4 separate regions of the Homo sapiens genome follow, and regions 2, 3 and 4 are each linked to region 1. Evidence: promoter capture Hi-C in 16 types of primary human blood cells and fetal thymus (Javierre and others, 2016). All regions are on one chromosome and are shown on one strand. The core of a region is centred on a gene start or on the middle of the fragment in contact, and the rest is flanking DNA. Distances in the headings are between cores, read along the strand shown.

Region 1 (3,387 bases), core at 682-3,181:
ATCTGAGACACAGGTCCTTTGTCTGAACAATGTGGGAGGAGTCTGTCTGCAGTACTGGTGTGCTGGCAAGTGAAGAGGAGAATTAACTGAAAACTGTATAAACCGATGAAGTTTCTTAATTACCTTAGTGTCCATTTTTTCTTCATCCTGCACACTGAACAGTTTTAAAAGACAGCCAGTGTGTCAGTGTGTCTTTCCGAGAGTTGAAACGTACCGAGAGAAATACAGTTAAGATAGGCGGCAGTGAGTTGGGCTGCTTTTCCAAAGCTAAGTTTCTCAACAGCGGAGGGGCAGGGGATGGCGGTGATACCGACCATTTGAACACCCCTTCCCTCCCCAGTGAGCTCTGTCTACAGGCCTCCATTTCTGTTCTTTTCTCCATCTGAACAAGTTCTTGTAAGGGAGGCTGAACGCTTTTAGAAGACACTCGGCGGCGCAAACTTGCAATCTCGAAGCTTTCCGTACCCAACAGCGAACCCACAACTCCTCGAGCCCGACCTTTTACCACCTCACTGAGGTTTCTGGTGCCACGCCAGCCTGGTGTTCCACGAATACAGCCCAAGTAACGTGAACACCACCGGACTGGGTCGCCCGAGAAACTTCACACTTTTTACCAGGCAAGACGGGCGGAAAAGCGTGGGTTTTCGCAAGGTGACCCATCTTCACATCTGGTCGACCCTCGGCTCCTCCCAGACCCCTTCGCGGTGGACTTGGGGGCCTCGCCGGGTTCGCCTTTTCCGTCCCACGCTCCTTTCTCTCGTCTCCCCACCCACGCCCGGGGCCATGCCCAGCTGGACCTCCCCACCCCTGCACTCACCCTGGCGGCCGACGATCTCGGCGACGTGCTCGGAGCTGGGCACCGGGACGCACTCGGTGGTGTTGACGCTCTTTCTCCGGAGCAGGGCCGCCTGCTCCCCGTTCAGGGCGGCCGCCGCCGCCCCACAACCGCCGGGGCCGTAGGCGTGGGACAGCATCGCCGCCATCATGCCCTGGGCATCGTCCCCTCCGTACAGCACCCCCGCCGCCGCCGCCGCGGCCGCCGCCTCCCGGGCATCGAACCTGGCGGCTGGCAGCAGCACAGACCCCAGGGACCCGCCCGGGATCTGCTGGGTCTGAGAGGCGGTGGCCGCGGGCGGCGACAGCAGCAGCAGCGACGACCGGTCCTCCTCCTCTGCTTCCTCCAGCTCCTCCTCCTCCAGCAGGTCTCCGTCCAGCTCCGCTTCCTCCCCCTCCTCCTCGTCCTCTTCCAGCTCCAGCTCGGCCGCCTCCGGGGCCCCGGGCCGGCCGGGCGGAGCCCGCTCCTCTGGAGACAGCTCCGCCGCCCGCCGGGCCTGGCCCTGCGCCGCCGCTGCCGGGGCCCGAAGCGCCGGGGCGCCGGGCTCCGCCGGGCTGGGGTCGTCGAGGCCTAGCGCGGCCAAGCGCTCCCTCAGCAGGAGCCCGTCCCCCTCGAGCTCCGGGCCGCCCGAGGGCGGCGGCAGAGGCGGCGGTGGCGGCGGCGGCGGCGGGGGCGGCTGCGGCAGGGGGGCCGGGGCCGCCGCCAGGGCCAGGGCCGCGGAGCTGCCGCTGGGCATCGCGGCGGCGCGCTGTCAATGGCGGCGGCGGCGGCCGGGTCAGGCGCGGCAGGCGGCGAGCCCCATGGCGGACAGGGCCAGGGCCCTGCTCAGCTCGCAAACACCTTTCCTCTGGGGAGGCGGCGGGGCTGGGGACCCGGGCCGAGGAGCGCCAGGGCCGCCCGGAGACCGGAGAGGGCGGGGTGGAGGGGCAGGGGAAGGAGGCAGAGGTAGGTAACTAGGTGGGTGGGTGGGGACGGCGGCGGGGCGGGCTGGTGGAGGTGGCAGCGGCTCCCCTCTCAGTGTTTCTTTTGTTTCATGGCCTTAACCAGCCCCCGGCGCGCGCGGCGGCGGCGGCTACGCCCCACGCCGCTCTCCGAATGAAGCCGGCGCGCTCTGATTGGGTGCTTTTAATCTCTGGGAGCCCGCCTTCTCCTCCCGCAGCCTTCCAACTCCTTTCCCCAGCCCCACCCCCCACCCTCCTTCGGGCCCCGCCCCTCCCCTCCCCAGAGCTCTCTGATTGGGTGACCGGGACCAGCCAGTTCCCGAAGCCTACTCCTTCCGTCCTCTCCCCGCCCACCTCCCTCTCATTCCTCCCGGCACGCGCGGAGAGGGACTGTGATTGTTCACTTTACACGTCACTCTTTGTGACGTCCCCGGCGGGGGCGGGAAAAAGGAGGCGGACGAAGGCGCTGCAGCAGAGGCTGAAACTAAGGGCCAAGCGGGGTTTTGGCGCAGGCGCGTGCGGTCGAAGCGCACACCTGGATTTGTTTCCCCCCAACCCTTCATCCCTGTAGCCCATGTGGCTGAGTTCTTTTAGGGAAGGCACTGTGTGAGCGGCCTGGAGCAGAGCTGCAGGCATAGGTTCGAGAGCATTGTTTCCTTGGGTTGAGGAAGAGATCGCCCCCTTCAGAGGAAGGGCCTTAAGAAGAGTCACGGAAGGAGGGGCCACGCAGTATCCTCCTATCCCCTCGCGGGGGCGGTTTCCTGAGCCGCGTGGCTCCCGGGCCTTCCCTCTCGGACTCGGGAATGCTCCTCCCACGCCCCGCTGGCCCGGCTTCTCTGCCGGCAGGATGGTTACATCAGCAGCCTGGAGGTGCTGAAGTTTAGCTCTTCGGGGTTTTTTGTTTTTTTTTTTTAAACGGAGTCCAGCTCTGTCGCCCAGGCTGGAGTGCAGTGGTGCGATCTTGGCTCACTGCAACCTCCGCCTCCCGGGCTCAAGAGCTTCCCCTTGCAGTGGCTCACGCCTGTAATGCCAGCACTTTGAGAGGCTCAGGCGGGCGGATCACGAGGTCAGGTCAGGAGTTCGAGACCAGCCTGATCAACATGGTGAAACCCCGTCTCTACTAAAAATACAGAAATTAGCCGGGCATGGTGGCGCACGCCTGTAATCCCAACTACTCGGGAGGCGGAGGCAGGAGAATCGCTTGAACCCGGGAGGTGGAGGTTGCAGTGAGCCAAGATCATGCCACTGCACTCCAGCCTGGGCGACAGAGCGAAACTGCGTCTCAAAAAAAAAAAAAAAAAAAAAAGAGTTTCTCCTGTCTCAGCCTCCCGAGTAGCTGGGATTACAGGCACGTGCCACCACGCCCAGCTAACTTTTGTATTTTTAGTAGAGACGGGGTTTCACCATGTTGGCCAGGCTGGTCTCGAACTCCTGACCTCAAGTGATACGCCCGCCTCGCCCTCCCAAAGTGCTGGCATTACAGGCGTGAGCCACCTCGCCCAGCTCTTTGGTGCTTTTTAAGAAAATGAATCCCCGTTTCCTCCTCCCTAGACACTCTTCCCACAGTATTGCTCAGGTGATCTCACGCAGTGGCTATCTTTTCTAGAGGTT
Region 2 (3,261 bases), core at 647-3,146, 5.4 Mb after region 1:
AAATACTATGCTAAGTGAAGTCAAAAACAAAAGGACAAATATTGTTACGATTTCACTTATATTAGGTGCCACAAATTGACAAATTCATAGAGACAGAAAGCAGAATAGAAGTTACCAAGGAGGTAGATGGGGAGGGGCAAATTACTGCTTAATGGGTACAGTTTTGTCCCTTTGGAGAAGTAAGGATGGGGAGTTATCCTTTAATGGATATAGAATTTCTGTCTAAAGTTATAGGAAACAGTGGTGATGGTGGCACAACATTGTGACTGTATAGTCATGTCTGGGTATCTGGGGGATTAGTTTCAGGACCTCCAGCAAGACACTAAATCACAGATGCTCAAGGGCCTAATAGAAAATGACATGGTATCTGCACATAACCTACGACCATTCTCCCATATACTTTAAATCATCTCTAGATTACTTATAATGCCTAAGGTAAATGCTATGTAAATAGTTGTTATACTGTATTGTTTAGAAAATAATGACAAGAAAAAAGTGTGTACATGATCAGCACAAATGCAATTTTTTTTCTCCAAATATTTTCTATCCACATTTGGTTCAATCCATGGATACAGAGGGCTGACTGTCCTTAATGCCAATGAATTATACTCTTACAAATGGCTAAATGGTCAATTTTATGTTATATATATTTTATCATAAGCCACTAAAGATTCTTACACAGGAGAACAATCTATGTATCATTTTAGTAAAATTTAGACTGAGAGTGCATAAAGCATAGAGGTTAAAAAAAAAGAAAAAAGGTTTAAAATAGGGTTGGAAAGGAAATGAAATAGGTGCTGGAGAAACTATGCCCTCAGTCTAAACTGGGACAGCATTAACTTTGATCTAAGAGGATTCTTACAAGATTTTACTGAATACAGTTGTTTCTGAGTCTAATACTGACCCGTCATATACATAATTCTGGGGTTCTATTGACAATGAGTTTAGACAGGATGTATTAATGGCCAATAAGTTCGAGGAATATTAAAGGTAAATACAATAATCTTACCAGATTTGTAAACGTAATATAAATATGCTTTTGAACTTACTCTAAATCCAAACATTAATTTTCCCTCGGTTTTTACAAAGAAAAAAAATTTTAATTCCACTAAAATACCTTTTTAAATGTAACAGTTCCTTACCAATCAATGTCTGCAGTTATGCTTATGCTTAAGTGACACCACACTGATAGAAAAAACCTTCCTTCGCAGCAATGTTTCCCCAGTTTTCTCACTTCAATCAATATTTATTTATTATTTTATTATCTCTCCCACTGCTATGGTAAGGGAGAAAAACAATATATCATTGAGGGACAAAAATATAAAAGCTTCGACGGGCCAGAATTAGAATAAGTGAACTAAAAGTGAGGTGAGGTTCCTTATTGAAATCCTATCTTCCCTTTTCTACTGTGGCCTAGATACTTAATGTACTACAGGTATTCCCCTATTATTAAGAATACAGACATCACAAAATTGCTAAAAATGAGAAGACACATTTATAGAATTCTAACATTCCTTTTAGGTGTTTTATATATATGACATCACTTATCCTTTTAAATTTAGTAAATGCAAAATTCCGTATATCATATGGGTACTCTAGCCCACCATATGAAATGCAAGGTACTATCCTTTTTCAATTCAGTGTAAGAGAGACTGGTCCAAAAATAAGTCTTAACTTGTTTTCATATCTATCTGCATCCATTCCCTAAAACGATATAATCCTAATGCCACCATTTATATACTCAACATTTAGTGAACCATCTAGTAGAAACTTTGTTTTTTGCTCTGAAATTCAAAATGGAATTTTGTGTTTATACAGTTATTTGGACAAGAAAGTGTGTTACATAAACAGTGATACCAGCAGTAGACTGCTCCAAGTTAGATGTATAAATAACGCCAAGGGGTCAAGGAAAATAAAGCGGAAACCTCTCATACTTCTAACTAAATACTATCGACATACACAAGGAGAGATCTGTGAAACACACACACACGCTGAAATCTTGGTTCTCAACGCCGAGTTCCAACATGTCATTCTTACAAAGGAACTTTACTACACATCCACTATAAAAGGTCCACCTTTTCTACGACCTATAATTTTGTTGATATTTACCAAAGACAGTTAACATTTTTCAAGATCCCTGTCCTCTTAAGTGAAAAAACAGAGCCGGGTCAAACTAAGACATCCGGCCAACTGTCCACCTGAAATATATTATATATGTACTGTCGTGTGTGACCAGTTGCAATCGCATACATAGGGGAGCCTAAGCTACAAGTTAGTGGCCGAACGAGGAAGAAAAAAGTTCAAATAATTTAAAAAGCACCCTAACCCAACGTTAACTTAGTTCGAAATGCATTAGCAGAAATTCAGGACTCAGAGCTACGCATATTAGTTAGATCGCCCCATCTGAATCTTCAAAGGCTTTAGAGAGATGTAGGTGGTGAAGAGAAACAAAGTGTTCGGTAAATTAAGCTTTTGGAGCTCTGGAGATGCAAATGACAGCTGGCTCTGCAGAAAGAAGGGGTCAGGCTCAGGCAAGGGTGGCTGCGGAGACTCCCACAGGCTGGAAGGAATAGGGGCGGGCCACCCCCAAAACCAGTTTGTCAAAGAATTGAAAAGGAGCAGGTGAGAAATCTCCTGAGCTGGAGAAGCCGGCCAGCCAGGCCCCCGAGCCCGTCTAGGAACCCCTGTGCATAAATGGGGGTTCACACCCGAGAAACGAGGCCTAATTCCGGCAGCTCCTGGGGCTGCGGCGACTGCCGGACACTCCGGGGCAGCAGACGGCTAGGAAACCAGGGCCAACAAAGAGTGAAAGGAAAGCAAGGAAGGACAGACGGGGACCCACAGAGCTCGAGCCTGGCCTCACCCTCTCATGGTGAACTTGACCACGGCGAGTCTGGAGCCCGCGCCGCTCAGCTCTGGCTGGAAATCCGGGTCGCTCCCGACGGGCTTCACCCCCACCATCCTCACAGAGAGCCCGGCAGGGTGGCCGCGACGCCACTGGCTTTGAAACTGAAGGAGAAGACGATCTGGGAGAGGAAGGAGAGATGCTCAGGAAGGCCGAGGCCTGGACAGAAGAGGTGGCGACCGCCGAGTCTTCTCCCGGGACTCTCAGTGCCGAGTCACGCCAGGGAGCGGAGCGGCCGAGGGGGCGGGGAGGGATGGGGGAGGGGAGAGGAGGAGGATGGGAAGGCGTGCGGCACCCAGCAGCCACCGCGCGGCAGGGCCCCCGGCGTGACGTCATTTCCGCGTCGTCCGGTTTGG
Region 3 (3,318 bases), core at 644-3,143, 5.1 Mb before region 1:
TTTTGTATTTTTAGTAGAGATGGGGTTTTGCCATGTTGGTCAGGCTGGTCTTGAACTCCGGACCTCAGGTGATCCACCTGCCTCGGCCTCCCAAAGTGCTGAGAATATAGGTGTGAGGCACCGCATCCAGCCAGAGCAGAGATATGTTTGAAGCAAAAAGAATAAGCAAGACAGGCTGGGTGTGGTGCCTCATGCTTGTAATCCCAGCACTTTGAGAGGCCCAAGTGGGAGCATCACTTGGGGCCAGGAGTTCAAAAACAGCCTGGGCAACATAGTGAGACCCTCTTTCTACAAAAAATACAAAAAGTTAGCTGGGTGTGGTGGTGCACGCCTATAGTCCCAGCTACTAAGGAGGCTGAAGCGGGAGGATTGCTTGAGCCCAGGAGTTCAAGGTTGCAGTGAACTGTGATCACCACTATACTCCAGCTTGGACGAAAGAGCAAGACCCTGTCTCTAAAAATAAAATAAAATAAATAATAAATAAGCTTGGCTTGCTAGTAAGTTTCCTTTGAAAAGAAAATCATTTTAGGCTGGGTGTGTTGGCTCACACCTGTAATCCTAGCTCTTTGAGAGGCCGAGGCAGGCAGATCACTTGAGGTCAGGAGTTTGAGACCAGCCTGATCAACGTGGTGAAACCCCCCGTTCTACTAAAAATAAAAAAATTATCCCTGCATGCTAGCACAAGCCTGTAATCCCAGCTACTAGAGAGGATGAGACAGGAGAATTGCTTGAGCCTGGGGACGGGGGTTGGAGGTCGCAGTGAGCCAAGATCATGTCACTCTGCACTCCAGCCTAAGCGACAGAGAAACACTCCATCTCAAAAAGAAAAGAAAAGGTCGGGCGCAGTGCCTGTAATCCCAGCACTTTGGGAGGCCAAGGCGGGCGGATCACCTGAAGTCAGGAGTTCGAGACCAAGCTGGCCAACCTGATGAGATCCCATCTTTACTAAGATACAAAAAATTAGCTGGGCGTGGTGATGCACACCTGTAATCCCAGCTACTCGGAAGGCTGAGGCAGGAGAATCGCTTGAACCCGGGAAGCAGAGGTGGCAGTGAGCTGAGAGCCGAGAGCCGAGATCGTGCCACTGCCCTCCAGCCTGAACAACAGAGACTCCATCTCAAAAAAAAAAAAAAAAAAAAAAAAGCTGGGCGCGCTGGCTCACGCCTGTAATCCCAGCACTTTGGGAGGCCGAGGTGGGCGGATCATGAGGTTAGGAGTTCGAGACCAGCCTGGCCAATATGGTGAAACCCCGTCTCTACTAAAAACACAAAAATTAGCCAGGCGTGGTGGCGCTTGCCCGTAGTCCCAGCTACTTGGGAGGCTGAGACAGAAGAATCGCTTGAACCCAGGAGGCAGAGGTTGCAGTGAGCCGAGATCATGCCACTGCACTCCAGCCTGGGCGACAAAGCGAGACTCTGTCTCAAAAAAAAAAAATGTCCCTAGTTTTTAGGTTGGGGGAACTAACGGATCAAGTTAAGATTGCCTCAGCTCATATTGCCAGGGTAGAATATAAATTCTGAGTGGATGCAATCAATGTGGAAGAAACACAAACATCTTGCTAAGCAAGAACCAAACGTTTCAAGTACTTTTTTTTAACGACAAGTGATTCAAACAAGAAATAAAAATAAAAGAAAGAAAAAACAACCTGGTTCTAGGCGGCTCTATCTCTCGTAGTGTTGATTATACCGCGGAAGGCGGGAAGAGCTGGGAAGTGGCAACGAAGCGAGGCTTGCAATGCCAGAGCCTTCGACCAGCCTTGCACAGGGGCTCAACGGCCAGGAGTCTCAGGTAAAACCACAACTCCCAGAAATCCCGGGCCCGGCGAGGGGCGGGTGCCAACGGCGTGTGGGCGGGGCCTAGGGAGTGAGCGGGGCGCATCTCCCGCTAGGAGTTCCTAGTAAAGTGGCGGGAGCCGCAGCTATGGAGCCGCAGGAGGAGAGAGAAACGCAGGTGATGGGGCGGGAATGGGGATCGTTGGCCTCCTGGAAAACGCGTTTTTGACACCCCCGCGCCGACAGCGGGTCTCCTGTGCGCGCCACGTCTACTTTTCTCTCCCCTATTCCACACATCCGTCTTTTAGTGCCGCCGTCACTATCTGCAAGCCCCCCGTGCTTAGACTCTCCTGAAGGCCTTTCCCTTCCTGCCCGGGCCTCCCCTTGTTTGGATCTGGCCCGGGAGAGGCGTTGAGCAGCCCGTGTCCACAGACTCTGGAGTGGGACTTATGAAGCCAAACCCGCCTTCCGGTTCGCTGCTCAGCCCGGCGGCTTCCACATCTGAACTGCTTCCGCGCCCTGCATCCCAACACTGGGAGCCTCCCGGCGCGGCGGGGCTTCTGGTGATCGAGGGACAATTGCTTTTTTCAGACCATGCACGGTCTAATAATGCGTTCGCATTATTATGGTCTATTAAGCTTTAAGGTTTTTCAAGCGAGGCAAATTGTTAGCCTGTACCGCTTTTGCAGATTTGGAAAAGAACGGATTGTTCTCTGGTAATTTTCAGTATTGTACGTTTCTTTGTGTACTTGCTCACTTTTTATTTCCTGATATCTAGTATCTCCCTAAAGACAAGTGAGGTTGTGAAGTAGGACTCCAAAATAGTCACAGAAAGCATTTAGTTTGCTTTTGATCACTTCTTTGTCATATTCTCATCGAGCCATTACAGTAAACAAGGCTTATAATATTTGTCTTTCTTTTAATGGTTAGGTTGCTGCGTGGTTAAAAAAAATATTTGGAGATCATCCTATTCCACAGTATGAGGTGAACCCACGGACCACAGAGATTTTACATCACCTTTCAGAACGCAACAGGGTCCGGGACAGGGATGTCTACCTGGTAATAGAGGACTTGAAGCAGAAAGCAAGTGAATACGAGTCAGAAGGTGAGATTAAGTCCAGAGTTTTGAACGAGAATAAATAGAGGTAACCAAATTTTATAACACTAAAGTATACAGGATTAATTTACTGTAGACTACTTGTTTTGCTCCTTTATTTTTCCCAGATTTTCTTCCACTCTGTTATAGTAGTAACTTTATTGTTTTATGTTTATATATATGTATATGTATGTGTGTGTGTGTGTGTGTGTGTGTGTGTGTGTGTGTGTGTGTATATATTTTAGACAATCTTGCTCTGTCGCCCAGGCTGGAGTGCAGTGGTGTGATCTCAGCTCACTGCAACCTCCATCTCCTGGGTTCAAGTGATTCTCATGCCTCAGCCTCCCAAGTAGCTGGGACTACAGGCCTGCACCACCACACCCGGCTAATTTTTGTGTTTTAGTAAAGACAGGGTTTCACAATATTGGCCAGGCTGGTCTCGAACTCCTG
Region 4 (3,567 bases), core at 523-3,022, 7.9 Mb after region 1:
CTGGAGTCAGCCTCAATCTCTTTTCTTCTTTCACGCCCTATATTTATTCTTTCAAAAAATCCTGAAGACTCTTTCTTCAAAATGTATCCAGATTCTGAACCTTTAGTGCTGCCACCTTAGTTCCAGCAATTATTAGTGGCAGGGTTAACTATCACCATATCTTCCTATGTACTAAGCACTGTGTCTTGCACTTATAATTTTATACATCTGATATTTGGAAGAATTTTACACAGACTAGCTTCTGGATCTGTACATTTCAAACCTTGTTTTTCCTCTCCATCCACTTATTTCCAAGGTCAAGTGCTGCAGAACACTTTCATATCAGATGCCACTTCCAGTGGGACTTCCTGCCACGGTGCCAGGTGAGTTGGCCCAGTGGATGGCAGTATTCCCAGAAGCCATTTTTTACACGAGGATGGCAGGAAAGACCATGAACCACATAAATAAATTCACTAAACTCAAACCAAATGTATCTCCAACTCGTTTCCTCCTTAGCTGGATCCCCAAAATTCTCCTTGTCCCTCCAACAGGAGGGGAAATGTAATGGAGGTGAAGTTGGAATGCAAAGAAACAGAACTCTTAACCAATAGCAATTGCAATATCTTGCTTTTGAAAGTTTTACACATTCTATGGTTAAGTTTCTCCCACACCTTGGAAAAACACCTTTGCAATTGAAGGGTCCCAGAACTTACCTTTCATTAGCTTCATGGTAAGTCAGCTTCTGGTATATTTTAAATTGCAACCTGATCCTTTCCCCCAGACCTCCCCATTCAACTTATCTGCTTTTCCTGTTGTCATAGCACCTCCATCCTTTAGGTACCGTATAAATTATCCATTATGTCTGCCTTCGGTAGAATATAAGCTTCATGAGGGCAAGAATCTTTGCTTGTTTTGTTAACTGATGTTTCTCAAGTGCCTAGAACAAGGCCAGGTGCATGGTAGGTGCTCCATAAAGATTTGTGGATAAATAAATACAATAAAGAATGCATAATGCATACACGAGTGAGTGAATGAACCAAAGGTAATCTAGGATCAGAACTGTGATGATCTAGGACTTCTAAATTTAAAACTTTGAGTTATATTCCACTCATTTCCACTTAACCTTGGCCATGTCAATGAACCTTTCTGGGCCTTTGCTTTCTCGTGTATGAAATTAGGTGGTTATGTATTCATTTAATTAATATCTATTGCAACCCAATTATGGTCAAGGCATTCAAAGATACTTCCTTGCATACAAGTGGTACCACTCAAAATGCAGAATTCAGCGGCCTCAAAAGTCCCGCCTCTTCCAAGCCCCGCCCACCGCAGTCCATCTTTAGGCCCCGCCCCAATTCGGCTCAGCCCGCCCCAGCGTAGAGGCACCACCTTTCCTCGCTGCAGTCATCCAATAGCCAAGATACACGGCTAGGTGATTTGCGAGCGGGAGTTAGGTGTCCTCTTGGCGCCTGACCAGAGTCGGGAAATTCAGCTCCTCTTGAGTAGTCCCTTCCCCGAGTTGCCCCCCGAGGTATGCGGGGTCACTCGCTGCTCGATGTTCCCTCCGAAGGGTCGGACAAGGCTCCGGAGCCCTGTAGCTGCCCTCCCTAGGAGCCCCGGGTCTTCACTGGCCGAGGTGCCCACCCCGCAGCATTCTGGGAGTGGTAGTTTTCTTCCTTCAGGTTCATTCCTGGCTGGCCAGTGCCCAAGACTGGCGAGACTACGATTCCCAGACGCCCAAGCGAGTCGCCGGTCACGTGGCCGCAAGGACGCTGGGCCGGTGGGCGGGGGCCGGCAGGTGCTCCGCAGCCGTCTGTGCCACCCAGAGCCGGCGGGCCGCTAGGTCCCCGGAGACCCTGCTATGGTGCGTGCGGGCGCCGTGGGGGCTCATCTCCCCGCGTCCGGCTTGGATATCTTCGGGGACCTGAAGAAGATGAACAAGCGCCAGGTGACGGAGGAGGGTGGTGAGCGCGCCGTGGCCGGGACCGCCTGTGCTAGCGGGGAGTCGGGGCTTCCCAGTCAGGGCTCCGGCTCCCAGTGAATGCGGCCGGGCGGCCACCCGAAGCTCCCGCGCTGGGCTCTCAGGCCCTGGGTTCTACGCCTACGTGTGGGCATGGGTGTGCACTTCCTTGCCCTGACAAGAGCACAATTAGGGGAGGGTGCAGGAAAGGGGAGAATAGAAACCCCGTGCCATGGAATGTCAAATGTGGTTGAGAATGCCACAGCCACGCTTGTGGGAGAGATGACTCGGTGAACGACAGCTCTCTGAGCGTATTTGAAGGGCCACCCGGTGAAGAGGGAACCGATTTCTCTGTGGGGCTTCAGAGGCCTGACTGCCGGCAGGTGGAAGAGGCAGAAAGGCAGGCGAGAGGGAAGAACTTTCCTACAACGGGAGCTGTCCAGCGATGCCTCCCAAAGCAGTTTCTTCCCAGCCTGGGCAGTTGTTTTTCCCCTGACCGTGGGTCGGGACTAAATAATGCTCCTTGTGCCTAGAGAGCTCACAAGCTGTGCGCAATCATTGTGGACTCAACCAGTGTTCCCAGCGAGATTCCAGAAGCCTTCTCTAACTTCTGAGATGGCTGCACTCTGAATATAGGAGGCAGTGTAGGGTCTTTGGGCAGCTGGGGTGGTTGAATTCCCTCTCCTTTGTGAGAGGACCTCAGAGGAAAACGTTCCTCTTGCTCTCTTTTTAGCCACTTATTGGCCATCATCACTGTCTTTGGGGCCTTATCTCTTCACTATAAGGTTAAGAGTGAGTAGGGATTGGAAAGGAAGCCCTCTCAGTCAGGAAAAATACGACTATGTAGGCTTCTAGGTAGAGAATTTGGGGGACCTGTAGGACCTGAATATCACGGTGGATACTAATGCCACTATTGCTACTAATAAATTGTGCTAAGAAAAATGGGACCTTCCAACCAGGGAGTTTTGATTGTCTTTGAAAATGGTATTAATCCTCATTATTTTGATGGCATCCAGTTTCATTTGCTCCATCATGTTGAGATGTGGGGTGGTGCCCATGGGAGGTCACAGCTTACTCCTTTAGGCATACGTGTTTTTCCCCTCTCACTCTCCTCCCCCTTCCCCAAGTAGAATTTCAGACTAGTGCAGTAGTGTGGGAAAGTTTGATAATTTCTATTTCATCAACCGTGTTTAGGATGTGGTAGTGTCTAGGTGTGCAAAGCTGATGACTCCTGTTTCTGGAAGATGAGTTGTAGTAGAGATTATCACCAGCTTAAAAAAGTAACTGCTAATGTCCTGAGCATTGATGCTGTTCACAAGAATATCCTCCAGGAAGCAGAGCTTTGTTTAAAAATCTAGACTTAATGGCTGGGTTTTTAAAGTGTCTCTAAAATTGGTACTGATTACTGATGGCTATAATTGCAGACTGTCAGAAAAGGCCCTCTGATGAGTGTATTGATCCCTAAACCAGTTTGCCCTTTGAAAGATCAGTGTGTTTTTGCTCTCAGCGATAAGGCCTGCCAGTAGCTGGCTGTATTGCCTGTTTTGCTAGTCTTCTAATTAAAATTCAGCAAGCTCAAATCTACTGCTTCTTGGTACTTTTTAAAAAAGCTTTGTCTTTTTTTTTTTTTC

Evidence for each region. The method cuts DNA at HindIII sites, captures the fragments that hold promoters and counts their contacts. A CHiCAGO score of 5 or more calls a contact.
Region 2: a contact is called between a fragment that was not itself captured here and the fragment with the promoter of MEX3C in region 1, in 4 of 17 cell types (total CD4 T cells, naive CD8 T cells, fetal thymus and 1 more). The highest score is 14.9, in total CD4 T cells.
Region 3: a contact is called between the fragment with the promoter of HAUS1 here and the fragment with the promoter of MEX3C in region 1, in 1 of 17 cell types (non-activated CD4 T cells). The highest score is 5.7, in non-activated CD4 T cells.
Region 4: the fragment with the promoter of SEC11C here is called in contact with the fragment with the promoter of MEX3C in region 1 in 2 of 17 cell types (naive CD8 T cells and monocytes); the score reaches 7.7 in naive CD8 T cells.

What each region holds. Positions count from the first base shown.
Region 1 is chr18:51,195,750-51,199,136 of GRCh38, forward strand. It overlaps MEX3C (mex-3 RNA binding family member C), which reads right to left and starts at 1,932. Exons shown (of 2, transcript NM_016626.5): 1 at 818-1,932. The coding sequence starts at 1,571. RefSeq lists enhancers at 1-557, 186-235, 2,356-2,445 and silencers at 896-945, 966-1,015, 1,276-1,355, 1,496-1,605, 1,626-2,155. The HindIII fragment of the contact is 5,421 bases long and covers 454-3,387 here.
Region 2 is chr18:56,635,480-56,638,740 of GRCh38, forward strand. It overlaps TXNL1 (thioredoxin like 1), which reads right to left and starts at 3,113. Exons shown (of 8, transcript NM_004786.3): 1 at 2,864-3,113. The coding sequence starts at 2,961. RefSeq lists enhancers at 2,165-3,150, 2,932-2,991, 3,151-3,261 and a silencer at 3,142-3,261. The HindIII fragment of the contact is 1,142 bases long and covers 1,326-2,467 here.
Region 3 is chr18:46,102,492-46,105,809 of GRCh38, forward strand. It overlaps HAUS1 (HAUS augmin like complex subunit 1), which reads left to right and starts at 1,894. Exons shown (of 9, transcript NM_138443.4): 1 at 1,894-1,950; 2 at 2,703-2,877. The coding sequence starts at 1,921. It also overlaps a transcript of ATP5F1A not described here. RefSeq lists a silencer at 1,719-1,818 and an enhancer at 2,209-2,298. The HindIII fragment of the contact is 1,925 bases long and covers 484-2,408 here.
Region 4 is chr18:59,138,112-59,141,678 of GRCh38, forward strand. It overlaps SEC11C (SEC11 homolog C, signal peptidase complex subunit), which reads left to right and starts at 1,773. Exons shown (of 6, transcript NM_033280.4): 1 at 1,773-1,924. The coding sequence starts at 1,838. RefSeq lists silencers at 1,203-1,252, 1,673-1,812 and enhancers at 1,363-1,452, 1,533-1,632, 3,548-3,567. The HindIII fragment of the contact is 2,684 bases long and covers 861-3,544 here.